Linked DNA regions of Homo sapiens: all the other regions are linked to region 1. Evidence: promoter capture Hi-C in 16 types of primary human blood cells and fetal thymus (Javierre and others, 2016). All regions are on one chromosome and are shown on one strand. Each heading gives the region's core, a stretch centred on a gene start or on the middle of the fragment in contact. The rest is flanking DNA. Distances are from core to core; before and after follow the strand shown.

The links. Contacts are between HindIII fragments. The CHiCAGO score rates a contact against its expected background, and 5 or more counts as called.
Region 2: a contact is called between a fragment that was not itself captured here and the fragment with the promoter of ACOX2 in region 1, in 6 of 17 cell types (neutrophils, total B cells, naive CD4 T cells and 3 more). The highest score is 10.2, in neutrophils.
Region 3: a fragment that was not itself captured here is called in contact with the fragment with the promoter of ACOX2 in region 1 in 7 of 17 cell types (activated CD4 T cells, non-activated CD4 T cells, total CD4 T cells and 4 more); the score reaches 6.9 in activated CD4 T cells.

The regions. Positions count from the first base shown.
Region 1 is chr3:58,535,402-58,539,133 of GRCh38, reverse strand. It overlaps ACOX2 (acyl-CoA oxidase 2), which reads left to right and starts at 1,944. Exons shown (of 15, transcript NM_003500.4): 1 at 1,944-2,015. It overlaps LOC107984079 (a long non-coding RNA gene), which reads right to left. Exons shown (of 3, transcript XR_001740724.2): 1 at 2,820-3,732. The HindIII fragment of the contact is 2,666 bases long and covers 977-3,642 here.
Region 2 is chr3:58,172,589-58,176,320 of GRCh38, reverse strand. LOC124909485 reads right to left here. Exons shown (of 6, transcript XM_047449435.1): 3 at 2,671-2,782. Among named protein-coding and RNA genes, the nearest start is that of FLNB-AS1, 3.8 kb to the right of the region's middle. The HindIII fragment of the contact is 7,073 bases long and covers 1-3,732 here.
Region 3 is chr3:58,189,901-58,193,632 of GRCh38, reverse strand. It overlaps DNASE1L3 (deoxyribonuclease 1L3), which reads left to right. Exons shown (of 8, transcript NM_004944.4): 7 at 194-290; 8 at 830-1,376. The coding sequence ends at 946. Among named protein-coding and RNA genes, the nearest start is that of DNASE1L3, 19 kb to the left of the region's middle. The HindIII fragment of the contact is 3,053 bases long and covers 270-3,322 here.

The DNA of each region.
Region 1 (3,732 bases), core at 695-3,194:
AACTTCTGGGCCCAAGCAATCCTTCCACTGCATCCTCCCAAAGAGCTAGCACTACAGGCACACACCACCACACTGGGCTAATTTTTACATCTTTTTTGGTAGAGACAGGGTCTTGCTATGTTGTCCAGGCTGGTCTCAAACTCCTGGCCTCAAGTGATCCTCAAGCCTCAACCTCCCAAAGCAATGGAATTATAGGCGTGAGCCATCACGCCTGGCTCAGTATAACAGTTTCTAAGTTCTATGAGTCTTCCTAGCAAATCACTGGACCTGAGGTTGATCTTGGAGAACCTCTGACACACTCAAATAAGTTCTGAAGATTAGCTGACAATATTGCAGCAGTGTTAATGGCTTGGTTTCATAATTGTACCTTAGAAGAAGCTGAGTGAAGGATATACAAGAACTTTTTGCAGCTTTCTGAAATTCTAAAGTTATTTCAAAATAAAAAGTTAAACACAAAGAACAAGGAGACAAGTGTGATCATTGTTAGTGCTGGGTGTTAGGTACATGCAGGTTCATTATATTTTTCTCTCCACTTTTGTACAAGTTTGAAATATTTTGTAATTTAAAAAGCCTTTTTAAGCTAGAGAATTCAAGATTTCAGTGCAACAAATCAAAATGATCACATCCAAAACATACAGAACAGGGTCAGCTTCAAAGCGGATGAGAAAACAATTTAAACATGGAGAGTTTATTAAAAAGCCTTGCTCCAAGGGCCCCTGAGCAAGGCTTTCTTCACTGGGCACTTCCTGCAATCCAAGCCTTTCTCTATGGCAGAGAGGAACTAAGTCATTGCCCATGGTCAGTGATAGCATAAATCCTTGGCGGAGATGAGTCCAGGTGTAAGTAAGAACTTTCACCTCCAAACAGTGGGGCCAAGACCACCTTCCCTGAAACCACTGCCCACAGCAATGAGGACTGCCAGGAGTCTGAGCCCCACAGCTCCAGAAGGACCTACTAGGTGATAAGTTGCAAAGCTTGGGCCACAGGTCCTGCCTCTTCCTACAGACACAAGCTAGACACTACCTTGGGGATATGATGGGGTGCTGTGAGGCTCCTTACTGAGCAAATACCTTGCATTACAGGGGAGGCCAAGGCCCAGAAAGGAGTACACCTGCTCAGAGTCAACATAGCTCAGAAGTCCTGCCAGAACAGGAGCCTTGATCTCCTACTGGCCCCTTGATTTCTTTCCCAGTCTTACACAAATGTGTTACGTAATCTACTTATTGTGCAAACCCAAACAAAGTGACATCCCTCCCTGAGCCTGTTTCCTTACCTGCAAAATGGGGAGCCGCATCTGACTTTCCAAGGTGGTTATGCAGGGAGGGAACCTCTAAGCCTCTCATTCCTCTCACTAAGACCCAGCTCTCATCTGGATCCCACACACTACAGATGGATGCTTCACAAATATTTTTCCAGGGAATGTCAGGGGATGCTAAGCATAAGACAAGCCATATTTTAGAGCAGAAACATGGGGAGAGAGGAAAAACGTACACCTTACAGAGCAATCCTTTCACATGAGGACCATCTCAGGGGAGCCTATTAAGCTCGTGTGATATTAACAGCTTGAGTGCCTGAAGGGCACACAGTGAAAGATCAGGGAAGACCAGGATATCACTTTGGAAACACTGCTGGGGTACACAGCTTTTTGGTACAAGTAGTGTCAAAGGAATCCCTGGCTTTGAGATGTAAGGGCTCCAACCTCCCAGAAGTCCTCCCAGGGCAGCCCCAGCGACAGGCACAAAGGTCACACCCATGCAGGAAGAGAGGGAGGAAGGAGAGGAGCTCCATAAGCCCAGACAAGGGCTTGAGAGCAGACAAGGGCTTGAGAGCAGACAAGGGCTTGAGAGCAGACAAGGGCTTGAGAGCTGGCCAAGCAGTTTCTCTCAGCTTCTGTGTTCCAGCCCCTATGTGGGAGGAGAGAAGGGCAGGACCACAAGCCTGCCAGAGGCTGCGGCCTACAGCCGGGGAGAGGCCAGCCCGGCCTACAGTGCGGACACAGGACAGAGGGGAGCCAGGTGAGCCAGGTTTTTGGGCAGGGAGGGACTGGGAGACCCCAGAGGAGAGGGCTGCCCCCATGATGACCCTGTCCGCAGCTCCGAGAGACCCTGAGCAAGGCTTTCTTCACTGGGCACCTCCTGCAAATCAGGCCCTGCACTAAGTGTTAGGGTCACGGCATGACAGTGACAAAGATCCCGGCCCTCTTGCAGTTTCTGTGTTAGTAGCAGGGAGATGGAAGTAAACAAAAACATATGAAATGAGTAAATGATCTCAAATGTCAGAAGGGGATAAGTGAAAAGAGAAAAAGGAGAGCAGAGTGAGGAGGACAGGGAATGCCGGGGGAGGGGGCTTGGGGTTTTAAAGAGGGTGGCCTCTTTAAGGTTAAATGAGGTTCAATGCAAAAAGCCCTAGTGACATTTGAAGAAAGGGTGTTCTGGGCAGATGGAGATGCCCTAGCAAATGCTGGCAGTGGCAGGGAGGCCTGGAGCATTCAGAACAGCAAGGAGGCAGTGGCAGCAGAGCAAGGAAAAGAGGTAAGGCAGGACGAGAGGAGCCGCACTAGGGGCACTTGCAGGACTCCGGGGGGCAGAGGATGGGGCCCCTTGCCAGCACCCCCACAGCCCTGCTGGGGGTATTGGTTTGAAAGCCTCATATGAATCATTTGCTACATGTGGTTGCATGACCCTTATAAAGTCTCCTCCCTTTCCAAGGCCCACATCCTCTCCATAAAATGGTAATAACAGCAGTGCATCTGTCAGGTTGAGGTCAGGAAGGAAGGGGATCAAAAGCATGGCAGCCTGCCGGAGAGATTTACAACATACCTGCTGCAAGCTAGGAAATGCAGAGCTGGCCTCCCAGGCCTTGTGGGAGGAACATGTAAGCAAATAAGAACTTGTCCCTAACCCTAGAGCACCCAGGGAACGAGGGAGCTGAACTTTGTTCAGAGAGAACAGCAGGGGCAAAGGGTAGGAAGAGAATGAGTGGAGGCCAGGGATGAGGGCAGTAAGTTGACATAGGAGAGAGGTGAGTGGAGTAGGGTTGGGTAGACACAGCAAGGACTCCATTCCACAAACAGTGGGCCCCAAGGAGCAGATTCCAAGCAGGAGAGGAAAACAATGTGATTTGCAGTTCAAGAGTTCACCTGGCAGCTGGGAGAACAAATAAGAGGAACACTGAGGCCAAGTAAGAGATAACAGTGGCCTGGATGCTAGCCAAAGAGATAGCAAGGAGCAGATGGACTCAAGAGACTTGTGAAATAGGATGGACTGCACCTCATGGTTGCCTCACTGTGGAGGAATAGGGGCTTCTCAGAGGCCAAGCACTTGCCATGAAGGAGACAGGGTCCAACCTGGGTATGAAAGACACTCAGGGGCTCCAGGGGAACACTTCACAGGCAGGAAGAAGGCTTCCTCCCTTCAGTTCCACAATATACCTGCAGGGCTCATAGAAATGGAGCTGAGTGATCCTAGAACTTATGAGCAGTTTAATGAGACCAAGGTGCCCCCAGCAATCCTCCACAGTGGAGCTGTAGTATGGACAAGTCATGTGCTTTGTGGTCAGACCCCATCCAACTCCTGGCCATCTCCAGCTGTGTGGCTAGGGGCCACTCAACCTCTCCAGGATTATTTTCTTCAGGTGTAAGCTTCACTGACTTTTTTGTGAAGATTTCCCTAGGCAATTCATGTAACTCAAACTGCAGTGGATAGAGCCCAATCTTTGGGGTCAGGCCCTGTC
Region 2 (3,732 bases), core at 576-3,075, 360 kb after region 1:
GGCCAGGATTTGAATCCCCAGCCCAACCTTAGAGCCACCACGCTTAATGGCTTCTCCATAAGCCTCCCTTTCCCTAGCTGGGGTGCCCCTTCCAGTCTGCCTTGGGGAGCCGAATCTCTGCAACACTCAGGCAGTCCCTCTCTCAACAGCTTTGGGTTGAGGAAAGTTTGCCCAGGCCAGTTGCGGGGTGGATGTGCTGAGCGGGAGGGAGGCAGGGGGAGATGCCTTTCTGGAGTTCATCTGATTTTAGAATGGAAGTTTCCCATTATTTCCGTATTTTACAGATGAGAGCAGTGAGGCACAGAGAAGGTGACCGCCTGAGGTATCTCGGTTGGTAAGCAGCAGCGCTGGGCTTGGAATCCGGTTTGAACCTGCAGCATGTGACCCGCTGTTCTCTGAATGCTGCTGCTACACGAGGTTATTCTGCTGCTATGGAGCAGGCTGCTTGTAGCTGGGCCTGAAGCTGGCATTTCCAGGACTTGGTGCTTCTGCTGAGGTTTTCTCCTCCTCTGAATACACCCTGCCGGGGTTCAGCACCAGCTTTGCCCTAAGCACGTCCACTTCCTAGAAAGGGAGGGCAGCCCCCGACAGGGAGAGGTGTTTTGGTATCTTGGCAAGGCAGTCAGGGCAGAGGGAGAAACATGGGCAACAAAAGGCTTGCAGATTCTTTCATCTTTGTACTTTGTCCCGGGGAGATAAGCGAGTCCAAAATACAAAACACCCTTGGATATGTGGATCCGTGCCACAAGTCAGGCTCGTAGATTCTCCATTTCCTGCCTGCTCTTGAGAGCTCTTGAGGAAGAGAGAAAAAGGGTGTGAGGGCTGTGGAGTAGGTCTCCCTAAATTCCATGCCCATGAGCCGGTCCCCGTGGGCCTGGGGGCTCAGACAAAAGCCTTATCACGAAGCAGAGAAGGATCTCTTTGTTTAGAAAGATTCCTCCCACCATGCGTTAGGCAGCATCCTTAGGACAAAGCCAGAAAAATAAACTGAATCCAGGCTTGCCTGAGCCCTTACTGCCCCCAATGTGACATTTTTACTTCCTCAAATTATGATTTACTACTGTGAAAGGGAAAAAATACCTGCATAAGATACTAATTTCTGGGAGTTTTCATTCGTGAAATATACAGATTATACAGCCTCTTCCCCCTCCAAGTTAATGGAGATTTGGAAAGACTCCATCTCTTTCCTTGACTCTACTTCCATAGGGCTGAGAACTGAGGCTAATGCGCACTTCAGTTAACAGCAACACTCCCCATTTTTAATATAAACTTGGCGGGTTGACAAGGATCAAGCACTCATTTTGCCTTTAACCTTTATTCTACTATTTGTTTTATTTTTTTTTAGATGGAATCTCACTCTGTTGCCTAGGCCAGATGGAGTGCAGTAGCACGATCTCAGCTCACTGCAGCTTCTGCCTCCCGGGTTCAAGCAACTCTCCTGCTTCAGCCTCCTGAGTAGTGAGATTACAGGCTGCACCACAACGCCCAGCTAATTTTTCTATCTTTAGTAGAGAGGGGGTTTCACCATGTTGGCCAGGCTGGTCTGGAACTGTTGACCTTAGGTGATCCGCCTGCCTCGGCCTCCCAAAGTGCTGGGATTACAGATATGAGCCACCGCATCCGGCCTATTCTGCTAGCCTATTCTGCTAATTTTTAAGTCTGTGCAACTTTCAAGGGAAATTAAATCCCGATATGCCCTACTCATTTTACACCAAAGTCATCAAAATGTGGCTTTCAACGCCCCTTTGAAGTCCTAAAACTAGACTTGGTCAAGAGGCCCAAGTGTTTTAAGTGCATCGGAAACAAAGAAACATGTTAATAAAATGTTTCCTTCTTGGCAGCATCCTGGTGAGTGCCTCCCTGGGTTGCAAAGGGAAATGTGATGAGGAAGAGGTGGGCTTGTGTGCTTTGAAGTGGGCAGGGCCTGGGAATCTCTACAGGGCAGTGCAGCTGCTGTCCGCTTCACCTCCATCGGCCCTGTCCATTCCTGGTAGGAAAGAGGCAAAGTCAGTAGTGAAAGGTGGAAAGAAAACACAAAAGTCGGAAAGGACCTGGCACCAGGCCTGTCCGGGGTCAAGTTTCAAAGTTTTCAAGGTATTTGCACAAACAGCTGGTTTCCATAGCAGCCAAGCCCAGGTGCAGGTAAGGGTTGCCCTGTGGTCCTAGCCATTGACTGATAAAGAGGTGCATCCCACCCTGGGATGTCTTTGATGTAACAGGAGGCAGTGGCTTCTAGTGGGGAAATTTACCCCAGGGTAACATCACCATCGCTCCCATGCAGGGGACAACCAAGTGTAGCCCCAGATGCCAACAAGCAGCCAGGGGGCGGCCTTCTGCCAGGAACATCACTTCCAGCAGGTGTTGGTCACAGACAGCAGTGGCTGAGACTCTGGCAGGGAATTGTTCCTTACAGCTCCCTGTGGGCTCTTATTTGATCCTCACGACCACCCAGAGAGGTGAGGCAAGGCGACTTCCCCAGGGCCACACAGCTAATGAACGGCAGAGCCAGCGTTGAAGCTCTGGGGTGCCTGACACCAAAGCCCATGCTGTTAATTTACAAATGCTGCCTCCCCCAACAGAAAGCCGCCAGGCTTCACAGTGGAGAGACCAATGGCTGCGCCCTGTGCTCCTCTGTGGGCAAACTAGCATGATACTGTGGCCCGGCCAGACCCCACCGGGCAGAGCCTGAATGGACTCTTTGGCAAGTGGGGGAACTGCCCGCCACTGCAGAATCCCGAAGCCCACGGACCTTCTCAGATAGGAGTCCAGGAAGCAGTGCTTCCTGGTGCAGGCCACAGATAAGGCTGCTCCCTCCGGGAGGAGAGGACCTTTCCTCCACTCTCTTCCTCCCTCCTCTCAGAGGCAAACAATTGATCCCAATTGACAGCCAGGTGTCAGAAGAATCCAGTCTCCCTTCCCTGCTTTTCTCTCCACCCCCAACCCCCATCTGGAGGGCTGGGGGCCCAGCCGTGATTTCCCATCACCGTGGCACCTGCCGGGGCCTATCTGGGGACTCCTGTTTCCACAGCGGTATCACCAGGGGGTAGAGCTAGCACCCTGGGGTCAAGAAGGCAGGGGCCTAGGGTCTTCCCCCAAGTGAGCTTTGCATCTGCAAACATGTCATTGCAGCACCTGAGGTGGTAGTGCCATCTGTAAAGCGGTATCACTGCTGTGGGGTGGGGAGGAGGCGGAGACAGAGGAGGAGGAGGTGGGGGCGGAGGAGGGGTGCTAGGTACCTCGTAAGCATTCAGCAATCAAAAGCTCTTCTAGAAAAAGGAGAAACAGGCCAGTCGCAGTGGTTGACGCCTGTAATACAGCACTTTGGAAGACCAAGGCAGGGCGGATCACTTGAGGTCAGGAGTTCAAGACCAGCCTGGCCAACACGGCGAAACCACATCTCTACTAAAAAGACAAAAATTAGCCAGGCATGGTGGTGCACGCCTGTAGTCCCAGCTACTTGGGAAGCTGAGGCAGAAGAATCACTTGAACCTGGGAGGCGGAGGCTGCAGTGAGCAGAGATCCTGCCACTGCACTCCAGCCTGGGCAACAGAGTGAGACTCTGTCTCAAAAAAGGAAAATTAAAAAAAAAAAAAAAAGAGAAACAGAGGCAGCAGCAACAATAAGCACAGCAGGGTGACAGGTGACAGCTTGTTTACCAGCCCCACCCCACCCCCACAAAAGGAGCCCAGGTTCATTGTCAAAACAAGTTGCTAGTTTTGTGTCCCTTAAGGG
Region 3 (3,732 bases), core at 547-3,046, 350 kb after region 1:
CAGGGACTGATCCTATTTCACAGTTGTAGGCACTGTCCTTTGGGGTCACAGGCTAAAACCAGCTCTGGACTTTGAGCGCCACATGAAAGGGCCAGACTGCTCGGTTAATTCCAGACAGCAAACACAGACCTTGGTTTGATCTCAGCAATCACAGGTTGGATTAACACAACTGTTTTCCCTCCCCTTGTTCCAGGATTGTGCTTAGAGGACAAGAAATCGTCAGTTCTGTTGTTCCCAAGTCAAACAGTGTTTTTGACTTCCAGAAAGCTTACAAGCTGACTGAAGAGGAGGTAAGGTTGCCATCTTGTCTTTCTATGCCATTGTCCTGGAAAGATGAGTTAGCTTGGGCAACATGATGAGACTCCATCTCTATGAAAAATTCAAAAAAATTAGCTGGGCATGGTGATGCATGCCTATGGTCCCAGCTACTTGGGAGGCTGAGGTGGGAGGATCACTTGAGTCCAGGAAGCGGAGGTTGCAGTGAGCCAAGATCGCACCACTGCACTCCAGGCTGGGCAACAGAGTGAGATCCTGTCTCAAAAAAAAAAAAAAAAAAAGATGGGTTGATGCCACCCTTTGAGGTCACCACTGAAGACACAACATTGGGCACTAGACCTTGACCCTCAATGCCTATGATTCTGTGATTTGAGGCCCCTCCAAAATTTCTGATCGAGCTGGTCTTGGAATGACGCTTACCAGTAAGTGTTCTGTGGGGTGACTTCGGGCATTTCCTCTCCCCTCCCTGGTCCTAAATTTGCTCATCGCTAAAATGAAAGCATCTCCCAGGCATCTCCTAATTTCCATGTCTACCTCCCCTTTCTCCTTATAGGCCCTGGATGTCAGCGACCACTTTCCAGTTGAATTTAAACTACAGTCTTCAAGGGCCTTCACCAACAGCAAAAAATCTGTCACTCTAAGGAAGAAAACAAAGAGCAAACGCTCCTAGACCCAAGGGTCTCATCTTATTAACCATTTCTTGCCTCTAAATAAAATGTCTCTAACAGATATGAACTGCTCCCTGTACTTAGGAAACAAGAGTGATCCAACTGCTTTCATTTTTTGACCTGAATTTATTCTGACTTGAGCCAAATTGGAAGGAGAATCTTTTGTATCTCTCTTGGTCTCATACCTCCCCTGAATTGTCTAAAAGGGAACCAGGGGCATTTGTAGACCAAAATGATGATCTTCATGCCCTGAGCCAGAGCCCCATCCACTGTCACTGGCCCTGCTCAACCCTGTCATGCGAGAGGCTGCAGGGGGAGGAAGAGCGTCAGCTTTCAGTCCTCATGAGGGGTCCTGTTCCACACGCAATGACCAGAAACACCAAGGCCCCAGCTGCCCCTGTGATTTGGGCAATTAACTGTTTTAAGAGTCTGCCCCCTCCTCTCTGAGGTCAGGCCACCATCACGTCTCACAGTGTTGAGGGATAAAGGCCACTCCCACCTGGTTTCTCTGCCTTCGAATTGTCCTCCAACTCAGCCAGCCCAGGAAGCATCAGTGTCATCCTCTGAAATACTAATCTGACCACAGCCCACCCTCAGTCCCACCCTCAGTCCCACCCTCTGCCCATAAATCCTTCAGCGGCTCCCATCACCATGGGAGAGAGCTCAGTCTTGGCCACCATGAAGGTCTCTGCTATCTGGCTTATTGCGCCAGCCCCACCTTCTGCCAGGGTCCCACCCTGAACCCCTGCTCCAGGAGGATGTCCTCCGCCCTGCATACCCCATGCTCTCCCTCCCTGGGGGCCTTGGCTCTGCCCCCCCCATGCCCTGCCCTATTCCAGAGCCCGGGCCAAGTGCCCCCAGCCCTCATGTGCGCCCTACCTCTATTGCAACATCCACCACATTATATTTGTCACCAAGGTCAGTGTTGGAGGTCTTTGGGGCCCCAGTGTGACAAACACCTAGTGGGCTGGCTGGGACTCGAGGATTTTGTTATCTTTCTGCAATCAAGGAGGCTCATTGGAGTCCAACAACACAGCACCATTTAGCCTGTATCCAAGGTGCCCATTTTTGTTTGTTTTGCTTTGTTTTCCCTGATGTTTCTTTGTTCAAGTCATACACGAACATGGCTAAATGTGTGAACAGTACCGAAGAATAAGCAGGGAAAAGGAATGCCGTGCCCTGACCCCATCCCCGAGTTTCCTGTCTCAGAAACAGCCCCTCTTCCCAGCTCATGTGTTTTTCCAGAGAGTCTGCACAGAAATGAGCACTATATGTAACCTTAAAAATACAAAATATAGCACACCATATGCATGGTTCCACTCTTCGCTTTTTTCCTTTAATATATTGGGGATGATGTGACTTTTGATGTAGGAGAAAAAGACCTTAAGTCTGACACTTGAAATTATGTAACATCTGACTGGGGGAATAAAATCAAAAGGGCCCTGGTTAAGCACGGGAAGCCATCTTCCTCAAATGTCCAATTAACCTCATTGGACAAAGGTCTCACTGGAATTGGTGAGGGGTGAGTGATGGCAAGGCTGCTAACACATCTGTCACCCTTCTCCTAAGCCAGAGCTCATAGTCCCAGGAAACTTACCAGTTTCCAAGGTCCAAAATGGTCAAACAAGGTCAGGCGAGGTGGCTCATGCCTGTAATCCTAGCACTTTGGGAGGCCAGCCTGGGCAACATGGCGAAACCCTGTCTCTACTAAAAATACAAAACATTAGCCAGGCATGCTGGTACACTCCTGTAGTCCCAGCTACTGGGAGGCTGAGGCACAACAATTGCTTGAACCCGGGAGGTGGAGGTTGCAGTGAGCTGAGATCGTGCCACTGTACTCCAGCCTGGGCGACAGAGTGAGACTCTGTCAAAAAAAAAAAAAAAAGTCAAGCAAGTCATAAATGGGCTTATTCCGGAGAGAGAGGCTCATCCTTCTGTCCCAAAGTACTGCAAGCTCCGAAAGCCCACATGGCTGGGATAAGAACCCTGGCTGCTGGGGCTTGAGACTCCATGCTGGGTGGGGGAGGAATGGGAAGGAGGACCAGACACTAAATGAGTCAGTCCATGGCTCTGACTTGGTCCTGACACCCTGCAGCTTCCTCCCAACAAGACATCTCTCCACTCCTGCCCAGGAGCAGGTTACTGGAGCCACAGGCATCTGCCAGCTCTTATTCCGGCCAAATTCTGACAGGCAAGAGGGCACAGCGCAGGGCATGTCTCACTGCGCATAACCTAATGGAGCTGCAAACATCCTCCTGTCCCTTTGGGTCACCTGGCCTGGCCTGGGCAAGGAACTCTGGTGGCCTTTTGGGGAAAATGGGTGTCCCCTGGTCATAGGCACCCTTTTAGCCTTGGCTTTGTCCAAAGAGTCTAAAGCTTGGCTGGGTGCGGTGGCTGACGCCTGTAATCCCAGCATTTTGAGAGGCTGAGATGGGAGGATCACTTGAACCCAGGAGTTTGAGACCAGCCTGGGTAACATAGCAAGACCCCATCTGAACAAAAAATAAAAAAATTAGCTGTGCATGGTGGTGCATGCCTGTAGTCCCAGCTACTCAGAAGGCTGAGGCAGGAGAATCACTTGAGCCTGGAAAGTCAAGGCTGCAGTGAGCTGTGATCGTACCATGGCACTCCAGCTTGGGAAACAGAGCAAGACCTTTTCTCAAAAACAAAACAAAAAAAACAAACGAACAAAAAAGAGTCTAAACCTTGGTGTGCACTGGAATCCCAGGGAACCAGTTACCATGGTGATTCCCAGGTCCCAGTCTCCCAGAGTCTGGGCCAGGGCCCA